Linked DNA regions of Homo sapiens: region 2 is linked to region 1. Evidence: promoter capture Hi-C in 16 types of primary human blood cells and fetal thymus (Javierre and others, 2016). All regions are on one chromosome and are shown on one strand. The core of a region is centred on a gene start or on the middle of the fragment in contact, and the rest is flanking DNA. Distances in the headings are between cores, read along the strand shown. Region 1 holds the start of DENND5A (DENN domain containing 5A). Region 2 overlaps SWAP70 (switching B cell complex subunit SWAP70).

Evidence for each region. Contacts are between HindIII fragments. The CHiCAGO score rates a contact against its expected background, and 5 or more counts as called.
Region 2: a contact is called between a fragment that was not itself captured here and the fragment with the promoter of DENND5A in region 1, in 2 of 17 cell types (M2 macrophages and M0 macrophages). The highest score is 6.9, in M2 macrophages.

What each region holds. Positions count from the first base shown.
Region 1 is chr11:9,263,654-9,269,420 of GRCh38, forward strand. DENND5A (DENN domain containing 5A) reads right to left here and starts at 1,697. Exons shown (of 23, transcript NM_015213.4): 1 at 1,308-1,697. The coding sequence starts at 1,416. RefSeq lists enhancers at 229-568, 729-848, 1,929-1,998 and silencers at 1,139-1,498, 1,549-1,648. The HindIII fragment of the contact is 8,855 bases long and covers 1,000-5,767 here.
Region 2 is chr11:9,734,289-9,740,414 of GRCh38, forward strand. SWAP70 (switching B cell complex subunit SWAP70) reads left to right here. Exons shown (of 12, transcript NM_015055.4): 8 at 3,925-4,032; 9 at 5,893-6,059. Among named protein-coding and RNA genes, the nearest start is that of SBF2-AS1, 21 kb to the right of the region's middle. The HindIII fragment of the contact is 1,613 bases long and covers 2,415-4,027 here.

The DNA.
Region 1 (5,767 bases), core at 447-2,946:
AACAAGGTGAAACCCCGTCTCTACTAAAAATACAAAAAATTAGCCGGGCGCGGTGGCGGGCGCCTGTAGTCCCAGCTACTCGGGAGGCTGAGGCAGGAGAATGGCGTGAACCCGGGAAGCGGAGCTTGCAGTGAGCCGAGATTGCGCCACTGCAGTCCGCAGTCCGGCCTGGGCGACAGAGCGAGACTCCGTCTCAAAAAAAAAAAAAAAAAAAAAAAGAAACACTGGACTTTTTCTGGTGCCCAAAAACAAAACTGTCTTGTCATCGTTGAAGCCGAGTAAGATTAGTCAACAGGATAATCACTTTCGAAAGAGAAACTTTACAGTGACAGAAAAGTGAAAAGGAGTCCCCCTCATCAGGATGACACAACCTTAAAGTACAACCCGACAAACCTCCACCCACTTGAAACCCACTAACTGGAAACTCCAGACAAAAACTTATTTTCAAAACTGTTACAATTCAAAGACTCCAATGACAGTGCAGTGGAAAATTCACGGGGACTGTATAATTTTCACGGCCTTCTGCAGTGAGTGCCAAATCTGGTCAGGGCCCCATCTTTGACTCCCCTCATCACTTTCCCTTTCAAATATGACTTGAAACGCATCAGAACACACCAAGCCTCTCCAACTACAATGCTGCTACCCTTTTATTCACAAACGCCTCTGTCCTCATAAAGGACATAAATTACTTTTCAAAAAAGGCATGGCCCCGGGATACAAGCCCTTTCCAAGGCTAAGGGAGTTCCTACTCTTCTTGGTGCCGCCCAAGTTCACTTTATTACTTCATATCCCATCCAGACGCGCAGAGCTGCAATCTGACTCAGGGGGCCCAGCCCAGGGCTGGGGTATAACGGTTTTGAGGAACTAGTATCACAAGCTTCTTGGGAAGTGGCCAGATAAACTCACCAAGTTTTTGTTTTCCTTTTTTTTAAGTCTGGGTGGAACTTACTTTCACTAGGACGTGGGACGCCTTCCCTCCCTAATGGGTGCCAGAGGACAAGCTTTCCTTTATTTTAAACGAAGTCACTCAACCTACACCAAACTGAGAACACACAACCCTCCCTCTTTCTGGTCGCCGAAGACGTGGCCACTGCGCAGCGGGCCGTAGGTTTGGACCCCTCATGGCTCAGAGCCCCTCATCCGTTTCCCCCCTCCAGTCCAAAGCCCCCTTCGCCCGCGCCCGCCCTGGTCCTCCCGGCCGACACTCGCCCGGCTCCCGGGACAAAGCGGGGCTGAAGGAAGGTTTCTTCTGGGGTCCCCGACGACAGCGGGCGCGGGAAAGCGCCCCGGGCTCGGCGCGCACTCACCCGACAGCTCGTCCGGCTCCAGCCCGGTCTCCGTGTCCAGTCCGCAGATGACAAAGTAGTCGGCGAAGCGACTGGGCGCCGAGCCCCCTCCGCCGCCGCCGCCACTCATGGCGCCGGGGCCGAGACCGGCCGGGCAGTGCGGAGCGGCACCGAGCCCCCGCAACCCGGGCGCCCGCCCGTCCGCCCTCAGGCCGCCCCTCCCGCCGCCGCCGCTACCGCGGCTCGGGCCGCCGCCCCCGGCCCTGGCCCGGTCCCCTCGGCCGCCGCGGCTGCCGTGACGGGGCGGGGGGGCACCGGGCCGCCCCGCACCGCATCCTGGATGCCTTCCCCTCCGCGCCGCCGCCGCTGCAGCTAGCCGAGAGCGCCGCGGCCCGAGCGAGCCTGGAGAAGGGCGGAGAGCGCGTGGACAGCCCCCACCGTGACCCTCCTCCTACCGCGCCTGCGCAGGCGCCGTCTGGGAGGGGGCGGGCTCCTGGGGGAAAGGATGACGTGATGCTCTTCGGACCCCGCCGGCCGCAGCTTCCCGGGAGGTCGCCGCAGCGCAGCCGGTGACTGCTTGGTCGCCCGCAACTGCCACTCCCCCGGGATTGAGACTCCTTTAGGGAGGGCTGAGGAGGTGCGAGAAGAGTGGGCGCAGCCTGCAGAGCCGGGCATTTGGCCCATGCTCTGCCCCCAACCACCCACCCAGCAAGCAGAGGTCCAGAGATCTTAGCGCGGCCTTGCCATGAGGATGGGGTCTCACGACTGAGCTCGGAAGCTCACCTAATCCTAGCTGCAGCGTGTCAGCCTAGACCCCAGACAGGGCCTTCTCCCTGTCCTCTCTTTTGGCAGGGGCGGATGAGCCGGTTTTATATTTACCCTTATTTTACAGACGGGGAAACTGAGTCTCAGAAAGAAGCAAGGACTTATCCAAGGTTACGCTGAGTCTAAGAGACATAAGCCTGGTCTGGAATCCTGGGCTTGTGGTCAGCTCCCCGTTCCTCGCCGCTCCCACCTCCCAGCCTGCCCTTTTCCCACGCTCTCTCCTTTTTTCTCTGGAAGCCTCCAGAGGCGCCTGCCATTTGGGAGCTCCTCTTCCTCTTCACTCTGTGAAAACTCTCAGATCCACCCCTAAACCTGTTTTCCTGTAAGAGGATAGGGAGGAGGCGAAGGGAAACTTACCTATTGGTCCTTGTCCTAGGACCCTCCGATTTCCTTTCCCATAGAAGCTAGGCAGATGTGTCTTTGTTGGAAACTGGAGATCAGAGGCCAGAAAGGCAACACAGGTATAGTGGTCACTAGCATGGGCTCTAGAAAAAAATGCTCGGATTTCAATCCTGACGATCATTTACTTTTGACCTTGAGCAAGTTAATCTCTAAGTGCCTGGCGTCATGGTTTTTGAGACAATTACATAAGGTAAATGCAAGTACAGGTAAAACAATGAGAATACTGCCTGGAACATGGAAATCACTCAGTAAATATTACAGATTTTTTTTTTCAAGACGGAGTTCTGTCTTGTTGCCCAGGCTGGAGTGCAATGGCGTAATCTCGGCTCACTGCACCTCTGCCTCCCAGGTTCAAGTGATTCTCCTGCCTCAGCCACCCAAGTAGCTAGGATTACAGGCGCGCACCACCACACTCGGCTAATTTTTTGTATTCAGTAGAGACAGGGATTCACCGTGTTGGTCAGGCTGGTCTCGAACTCCTGACCTCAGGTGATCCGCCCTCCTCTGCCTCCTAAAGTGCTGGGATTACAGGCATGAGCCAATGAGCCCCCAGCCTGGATTATTATTATTGTTCCAGAAGGAAGTACTCTTACGGTTTGTTCTGGGAGGCTGCCACTAAGAGCTGTAGAAGGCAGCTGGCTTCCCCAAAGGCTGAGCCTAGGCTCTCTCCTAGGTTCTCCTGGGTACTTCTCTCAAATATTGTTTCCCTTGGGGAGGTTTACCTAGAGGTTATAGCCATTGTCTCTCGGAGCCATAGCACCTGTTCCTCCCTGTATCTAACCTGCCTGAACTAGGGGGAGAAAAGTGGGGAGGAGAAGGTTGCTTCAAAACGCCCATTCATGGTGATGCTCCACCCGTATCCTGCATGCTGGGGACACAGAGACAGTAGAGGGGGATTAGTGAGTTAAACAGTCACAGAGGCTGGGCGTGGTGGCTCACACCTGTAATCCCAGAACTTGGGGAGGCCAAGGCTGGCGGATCGCTTAAGGTCAGAAGTTCAAGACCAGCCTGACCAATATGGTGAAATCCCATCTCTACCAAAAATATAAAATTAGCAGGGTGTGGTGGCAGGCAACTTTAGTCCCAGCTCCTCAGGAGGCTGAGGCAGGAGAATCGCTTCAACTCAAGAGGCAGAGGTTGCAGTAAGCCGAGATCGTGCCACTGCACTCTAGCCTGGGCAACAGAATGAGGCTCTACCTCTAAATAAATAAATAAATAAATAAATAAATATGCCAGGCGTGGTGGCTGACACCTGTAATCCCAGCACTTTAGGTGGCCAAGGCAGGCAGATCACGAGGTCAGGAGATCAAGACCATCCTGGCCAACATGGTGAAACCCCATCTGTACTAAAATTATAAAAATTAGCTGGGTATGGTGGTGCCTGTAATCCCAGCTACTCAGGAGGATAAGGCAGGAGAATTGCTTAAACTCGGGAGGTGGAGGTTGCAGTGAGCCAAGATGGCGCCACTGCACTCCAGCCTGGCAACAGAGACACCCTGAAAAAAAAAAAAGAAAAAAAGAAAGTTACAGAGCACAGAAGGAGGACATCTTTCCAGATTGGGGAATGGTCAGGGAAGGTTTCCAGAAGGAGGTATATACTCTGACCTGAGTTCCAGAGGATCAACAGGAAGTTTCTCAGGTAAAAAGGGGCAGGGAAAGATGTTTAACTCAGTATGTGTAACAACAGGGAGCAACAGATAAAAGGGTATGTTCAGGCATCAACAAGTAATTCATTAACATTAAGATGGGAGATGGAGAGTTTAAAGGGAATGAAACCAGGGCAGGGGAGGAAGAAGGAGAACAGAGGAAGGAGGCATGGATTCAAATACCAGGCTAAAGAATTTATCCTCGGCCAGGCGTCGTGGTTCACACTCACGCTGGTAATCCCAACACTTTGGGCAGCTGAGGCAGGAGGACTGCTTGAACCCAGGAGTTTGAGACCAGAGTGGAGAACATAATGTGACCCCTGTCATAAATAAATAAATAAATAGTATTTTTTAGAAATAATTTATCCTATAAGATATATGAGTTGAGGATGAGTGAGGTAAAGTAAAGGAATTCAAGCCAAGGAGTGATATCTGACCCAAATCTGAGAATGATCACTCTAGGGGTGATGTGGAAAAAGAAATTTGAGAAAGGAATAAACGTCCTCAACTGAAAAGTCCAGAAACTTTTTATCCAAGGTGTCCAGGGTGATCTGGTGCTAGACGACCTCTCATATTAACTCAACTCGTAAAACACAAGTTAAAAACGAATGCATAACTGTATTAATTTGCCCTGGGAAATGTAACTGCTCAGAAGCCCAGAATACTCAACTGTGAAGTGATCTCCTTCCCGGTAGGAAATAAGTTTGGCAGAGTGATTGCTTCTTAGAGAGTCAGAAAATATAGAAAGGGATGCTCTTAAGATTTTTTCTTTTTTTTTTTTTTTTTTTTTCTGAGAGAGTCTCGCTCTGTCACCCAGGCTAGAGTGCAGTGGCGCCATCTCGGCTCACTGCAACCTCCGCCTCCCAGGTTCAAACGATTCTCCTGCCTCAGCCTCCCAAGTAGCTGGGACTACAGGCGCGCGCACCATGCCTGGCTAATTTTTTTTTTTTTTTGTATTTTTGTTTGTTTGTTTTTTGAGATGAATTCTCGCTCTGTCGCCCAGGCTGGAGTGCAGTGGTGATCTCTGCTCACTGCAAGGTCCGCCTCCCAGGTTCACACCATTCTCAGCCTCAGCCTCCCGAGTATCAGGGACTACAGGTGCCCGCCACCTGTAGTGGCTAATTTTGTTGTATTTTTAATAGAGACGGGGTTTCGCCCTGTTAGCCAGGATGGTCTCAACCTCTTGACCTCGTGATCTGCCCGCCTCGGCCTCCCAAAGTGCTGAGATTACAGGCGTGAGCCACTGCGCCAAGCCAAGATTTAATGTTTTTTTGTTTGTTTGAGACAGAGCCTCGCTCTGTCACCCAGGCTGGAGAGCAGTGGCACAACCTCAGCTCACTGCAACCTCTGCCTCCCGAGTTCAAGCTATTTTCCTGCCTCAGCCTCCTGAGTAGCTGGAACTACAGGCCTGCGCCACCATGCCGGGCTAATTTTTTTTTTAGTAGAGACGGGGTTTCGCCATGTTGCCCAGGCTGGTCTCGAACTCCTGACCTCAGGTGATCTGCCCACCTTGACTTCCCAAAGTGCTGTGATTACAGGCGTGAAGATTTAATGTTTAAATCCACTCCCACTCTTACTAGCTGTGTAAGCTGGGGTACATCAGTTAAA
Region 2 (6,126 bases), core at 1,971-4,470, 470 kb after region 1:
AGAATGTACATTTTAAGACCGCATTCTTTGACTTAGCATTGTACATTTGAGATTCATACATTGATGCCCTTTTTAACTTTTAAACTCTGCCTTCCAGGAGCATGTAGTGTTCTGCTCTGTATAATGTGAAGAAGGCATGCCTGGTGTTAGCAAGCTGTAGACCTATGTAGACAGCTTTCCCACTACCTAGGTTTATAGAATTATTTAAAAGACTGATTTAGGATTCTTGGATAAGTGCTGAAAAATTCTTATAGATCGCTTAGTAATCTTTGATTTTCTTGTCAATAAACACAGTTCTCCAATTTTTTCATGGAGGCATTCTTAGAAAAAAACAGCTTAGATGAATATTTAATTAAATTTATTTATTTTGAGACAGGGTCCCGCTCTGTTGTTCAGGCTGGAGTGCAGTGGTGCCATGCTCACTCCCCTGCTCAAGACATCTTCTTGCCTCAATATCTCAAGTAGCTGGGACTACAGGTGTGCACCACCATACCTGGCTAATTTTTTTGTATTTTTAATAGAGATGAGGTTTTGCCATGTTGCCCAGGCTAGTCTCAAACTCCTGGGTTCAAGCAATCCACCCACTTCAGCCTCCCAAAGTGCTGGGATTACAGGAATGAGGCACCATGCCCAGCTGAATCTTTTAATCATCTGGAATTAGGTTACATATCTGTGGGTTTCTTAAAATTTGACAGGCCTCATTTTAATTAGAAGAAGGAATAAGAAATCATGGTAGTTTTTATAAATTAATAGATTTACTTAAAGAATTTACTTAAATTTTTATTTCTACTTTTGTTTCTTTTAAAAAATATAATCATTTGGGTAGGTTCAAAAATATACAAATATAAAAAGGCAGCTGTGAAAGATTTTCTCCCCCTCCCCCACTTATGAATTTCCACCCCTTGCCCAAGGTAAGGAAATATGAATATACATTCTTATTTTCCCATTTGTTAAACACACAAAAGTATATACTAGTGTCACTGTTCTGCCTCCAGTTTATTTCACTTAATATATTTTTTAGATCTTTTCATATCAGTATAAAGAGAGTTACCTCATTCTTTTTTATGGCTGTAGAATATTCTGTTATACAACTGTGTCATTACTTAGTCATTCCCTGTTAGTGAACATTTGGGTTGTGTTAATCTTTTGTTTTAATAGGTAATGCTGTAGGGAATAATCTTGTACCTGTGTCATTGTATATGTGTTCATACATGTTCTGATATCTCTAGGGAATGAATTCTCAGAAGTGGGAATGCTGGGTCAAAGTGTGTAATTATGAAATCCGGGCTGATGGACCAGCCGCCATCTTGAGTGTTGCTATTCACTGTGCCGGAAGAAAAAGTGTTCTAGGGTTTGGCAATGCGGTGCTCCAGCCTAGAAATGTCACACTGTACTTCTATTGATAATATCTTGGTGAGAACTAGTCAGAACTTTCTGATGAGTAGTCAGCTGTCAAGCTTGCAGGAGTTCCCTTGTGTGTGGTAAATCATTTTTCTTTTTCTGCTTTTAAGATTATTTTTTGGTCTTTGTCTTTCAACAGTTTTACTGTGGTGTATGTGGGTGTAGATCTCTTTGTGTTTATCCTGTTTAGAGTGTATTGAACTTGAATATGTAGATTAATGTTTTGCCTTAAGCTGGATAAGTTTTCAGCCACAAATATTTTTTCTACTTTTTTTTCCCTCTTCTGATACTTTCGTTATGCAAATGTTGGTGCACATAATGGTGTCCCACATTTCTCTAAGGCTGTGTTCATTTTTCTTCTTTTTTATTTTCTGTTTTCCAGTTGCATAATTTCTATAGATCTGTCTTTAGTAGATTTTTCTTGTAGCCCAAATATACTGTTGAGTCCCTCTAGTGAATTTTTCGTTTCAGTTATGGGACTTTTTACTTCCAGAATTTCCATTTGGTTTTTTCTGTGATTTATATCTCTTTATTATTCTCTATTTTATGGTATATTGTCATTCCTTCCATTACTTCTCTAAGTATGGTTTCCTTTAGTTATTTGAGCATAAAATATTTATAACTGCTTTGAAGTCTTCATATGCTAAATCCACCATCTGGGCCTCTTCAAAGGCAGTTTCCGTTGCCTGCTTTTTCCCTGTATATGGGCCATACTTTCCTTTTTCTTTGCATGTCTCATAATTTCTTGTAGAAAACTAGACATTTTAGATAATGTGTGGTAGCAACTCTGGATTCTGATTCCACCCCTCTCCCCAGAGGCCTGCTGTTGTTTGCTCCTTTATTTGTTTAGTGACTTGGCTGGACTATTTCAGTGAAGTTTGTTTTCCTCACAGTGTGAAGCTTCTGACTGTTGCTCCTCAGAGGCACAGGCTTGGACAGGAACACAGTCACCCTGCGAAGACCCTGATTTTTGCAGGGCTCTCTTTGAGTGTCTTTCTCTGATCTCTCATTTAAGCTTTCCACCTCTGTTGGTACCACACCAACAGCTGTTAGAGTTCACTAATTTTGTTCTGTTGTTCTCCATAATGCCCTGGAACCTGAATTGCCTCACAGTCTGAGATCATTTAAATTCAGGCCTACATGTAGTCTTTAAGGTCAGTCTTTGAGACTTGTTCCTACTACATGAGAACTCTTCTTAGCTGTCTCTTTCTCTGGTTCTGTCTGTCAGACGTTTGGCTGGTCTGGAAGAGCAGTGGCTCACACCTGTTAATCACTTTGGGAGGACAGGGTGGGAGGATCACTTGAGGCCAGGAATTTGAGACCAGCCTGGGCAACATAGCGAGACCTCATAGCAGTCAACCAACAAACCAACAACACTTTTAGCTGGTCCGTGTGTTAGTGTGTTGTTCTCATGGAGCTTCTGGCCTCCTCTTAATTCTCAGCCACTCTTGCCTGGAATAAAGTTTCTGCAACATGCAGCTGGGGACAAAGAGAAATTCTGGCAGCCAGCCTGCCCCTCCCAGGAAGGTATCATAGCCCTAGGCTTGAGCTGAGGGGAGGGGAACCCTTGTTTGGGGTTCCATCTGCCAGGAGAAGAGCTTTCTTCTCACTGACACTGTGGGGGTGGGGAGGGAGTGCATCATATGCCACAGACCCTCACGATTCTTACTGAGAGTTAGATTTTCTTAGATAAATGTTCTCCATTTTAGAATGTCCTTAGCATAATTTCTAGAGACTTTTAAAGGTTTTGTTTTTTTAACAATAATTTTCACCAGTTATGGTTGTTTTGTTGGGGAAAGGGTCTGTGGAGCTCCTTATGCCACCCTTCTAGAAATTGGTTCTGGTAAAAGTTATAATGAATAATGTATAAGATGAAAAAACTGTACAGAAAGAGCTCAAGAAATAGCTCTCAAATCTCATGAATGTGGCTGGGCATGGTGGCTTACACCTGTAATCCCAGCACTTCGGGAGGCTGAGGTGGGCGGATCACGAGGTCAAGAGATCGACACTATCCTGGCCAACATGATGAAACCCCGTGTCTACTAAAAATACAAAAATTAGCTGGATGTGGTGGTGTGTGCCTGTAGTCCCGGCTACTCGGGAGGCTGAGGCAGGAGAATCACTTGAACCTGGGAGGTGGAGGTTGCAGTGAGCCGAGATCGTGCCACTGCACTCCAGCCTGGCGACAGAGCAAGACTCAGTCTCAAATAAATAAATAAATAAATAAAAATCTCATGAATGCAATCCCAAGTGAATTTAATTCAATGACTGTACTAAAACTTTCTTTGCAAAATGTTGTTCAGGCTTATCAATAGTCTTTCATTTACCTAATTTATTTTGTATGTTGATTCAGCAGATCGTTAGACTGGAATTCTAATGGAGCTAAAAGTTTTTATTCTATTATCTTTATTGAATGTTAAGAATGTTTGGCTTTTCCTGTACTTAAGTATGACTGTCTCTCTCTCTTTAATGTACTTCTACTCTAACACCTGCTTTTCTGTGGATGGGTTTTTGATTGGCTAGAAACTGGAGGAAGCAGCATCTCGTGCAGCAGAAGAGGAAAAGAAACGCCTTCAGACTCAAGTGGAACTTCAGGCCAGGTTCAGCACAGAGCTGGAAAGAGAGAAGCTTGTGAGTATCACATGGCTGGAGAAAGCAGCTGCAGTAGCTCAGCCTGGGTCGGTGGGAACAGGGAAGGGCTGGAGGCTACAGTGAGGCATGTCATCAGCTTGGCTTTGCTACTGACCTGGAATGGGCTGTAGGGGAAGTTGCATGTTTGTTCATTCATTAATTATCTGTTTATTGAACACCTTCTATGTGCCAGGCAGTGTGCCAAAGATGTAATGGCAAAAGACATAAACCTTGTTTTCAAGACTCCTAAGTGGAAATTTATGGAGCCAGGCATGGTGGCCCACTCCTGTAATCCCAGCACTTTGGGAGGCCAAGGCATGAGAATTGCTTGAGCCCAGGAGTTCAAGACCAGCCTGGGCAATATCTACAAAAAAAAAAAAAAAAAAAAGAATTAGCCAGGCCTGTTGGTACATGCCTGTAGTTCCAGCTACTTAGGAGGCTGAGGTGGGAGGATTGCTTGAGCCCAGGAGTTCAAGGCTACTGTGAGCTGTGATTTTGCCACTGCACTCCAGCCTGGGTGACAGAGCAAGGCCCTGTCTCCAAAAAAGAAAAAAAAAGAAATTTGTGGAATGATGTGATAAATGCTTGGTTAGGGTGACTATATTTCCTGGTTTGCCTGGGAGAGTCCCTGCCATTCTGGTATAATTATTAATAACATTCCTTTTCATTCTCAAAACAGTTCTGATTTGGAAAATAAATAGTTATGGAAAAAGTAAGCATAGGTTCCATGGTATATCTCCTCTGTAATAAGCAAGGATGGCGGGGGTGAGATCCTGAAATTGTGAGAACATCTAGAGTCTGATTTGTTGCTCTTGGCAGCTCCGGTTCATCCTAGAGGCTTCCATCTTCAAGAGACCCAAGATCCAGGTTGTCTTAGGTAGTTAGCTGGTTAGCTGGAACACAGGTCTTCTCACATTGAGTGATACTCTGTCAGAGAGTGCTAAGCCCAGTGCCTAAATAGATGCATGTGACATTTCCTCTAGTCACTTTTTGTTATTTAGAGTTGAAAGAGATGTGTTTGTGGTTCAGAGAAAAGAGGAAGGCAAATGTGATGTAGAGAAACAGCCAGAATGTCTGGTCTTGTTTCCTCTCTGGTCCTTCTTACTGAACATTGGCTTTTTCTTCTTTAAGTTCAGGATTATCACATGCTCTCTCATGACTCTTCTGAAGACAGAGTGAGCTAATGCAAGTGAAAATATTTTATCAACTGCAGAGAAATAGGCTAATGTGTTTGTTATATTTAGGATGTTCTTGTCTTGTAATTTTTAAGGCAGGGATTCAAAACTCTGTAATCCAGAAGGGAAAAACCATTAACGTATACAGATTAACTGAAATGCTTGAGTTCCTCTAGGGCTGGAGGTGCCCCAGGGAGTGGAGACAGCCAGGGAAGTGTGGGAGGAATCCCATGCTGGATGACCTTTCCTTCTTCTTTAGTGTAACACTAAAGAAGACTGGGAAAAGGTTCGTTTGCTCTGACTGGGAAAAGGTTCGTTCCTTTTAGAGAAGACCCTATTGGTAAAAAGATTGTGACTTTAAGACAGAAAGGAATTTAGAGAGAAATTACACAAGGAAACATTTTTTTCTTGACTTGAGTCTTAAAATGTGGAGTGGAAGGGATGGAAAATACAGCAGGGCAGAACATAATTTGGGTTATAATTTGCTCTTCCCAGACTCTTTCACTATTGCGATTGGGTGTGGTACCCTCATCTCCTCCATCTTTAAGTTCAAGGATTGAAGGACAGGGTCCTGCCACCCTGATGGGCTGAGGCTGCAGCTGTGGGCAACCCCTCAGGTGGAGGTGAGGCTTTCCCTGAGAAAGAAGTCAACCTGCATTTAAACAAGACCCTTTTATACCAACAGATCAGACAGCAGATGGAAGAACAGGTTGCTCAAAAGTCCTCTGAACTGGAACAGTATTTACAGCGAGTACGGGAGCTGGAAGACATGTACCTAAAGCTGCAGGAGGCTCTTGAAGATGAGAGACAGGCCCGGCAAGATGAAGAGACAGTGCGGAAGCTTCAGGCCAGGTGCCAGATTTGTTTGCAGACTTTGCCTTTATGTACTTTGCCTGGGCTAATACAGTTTCTTGGAATG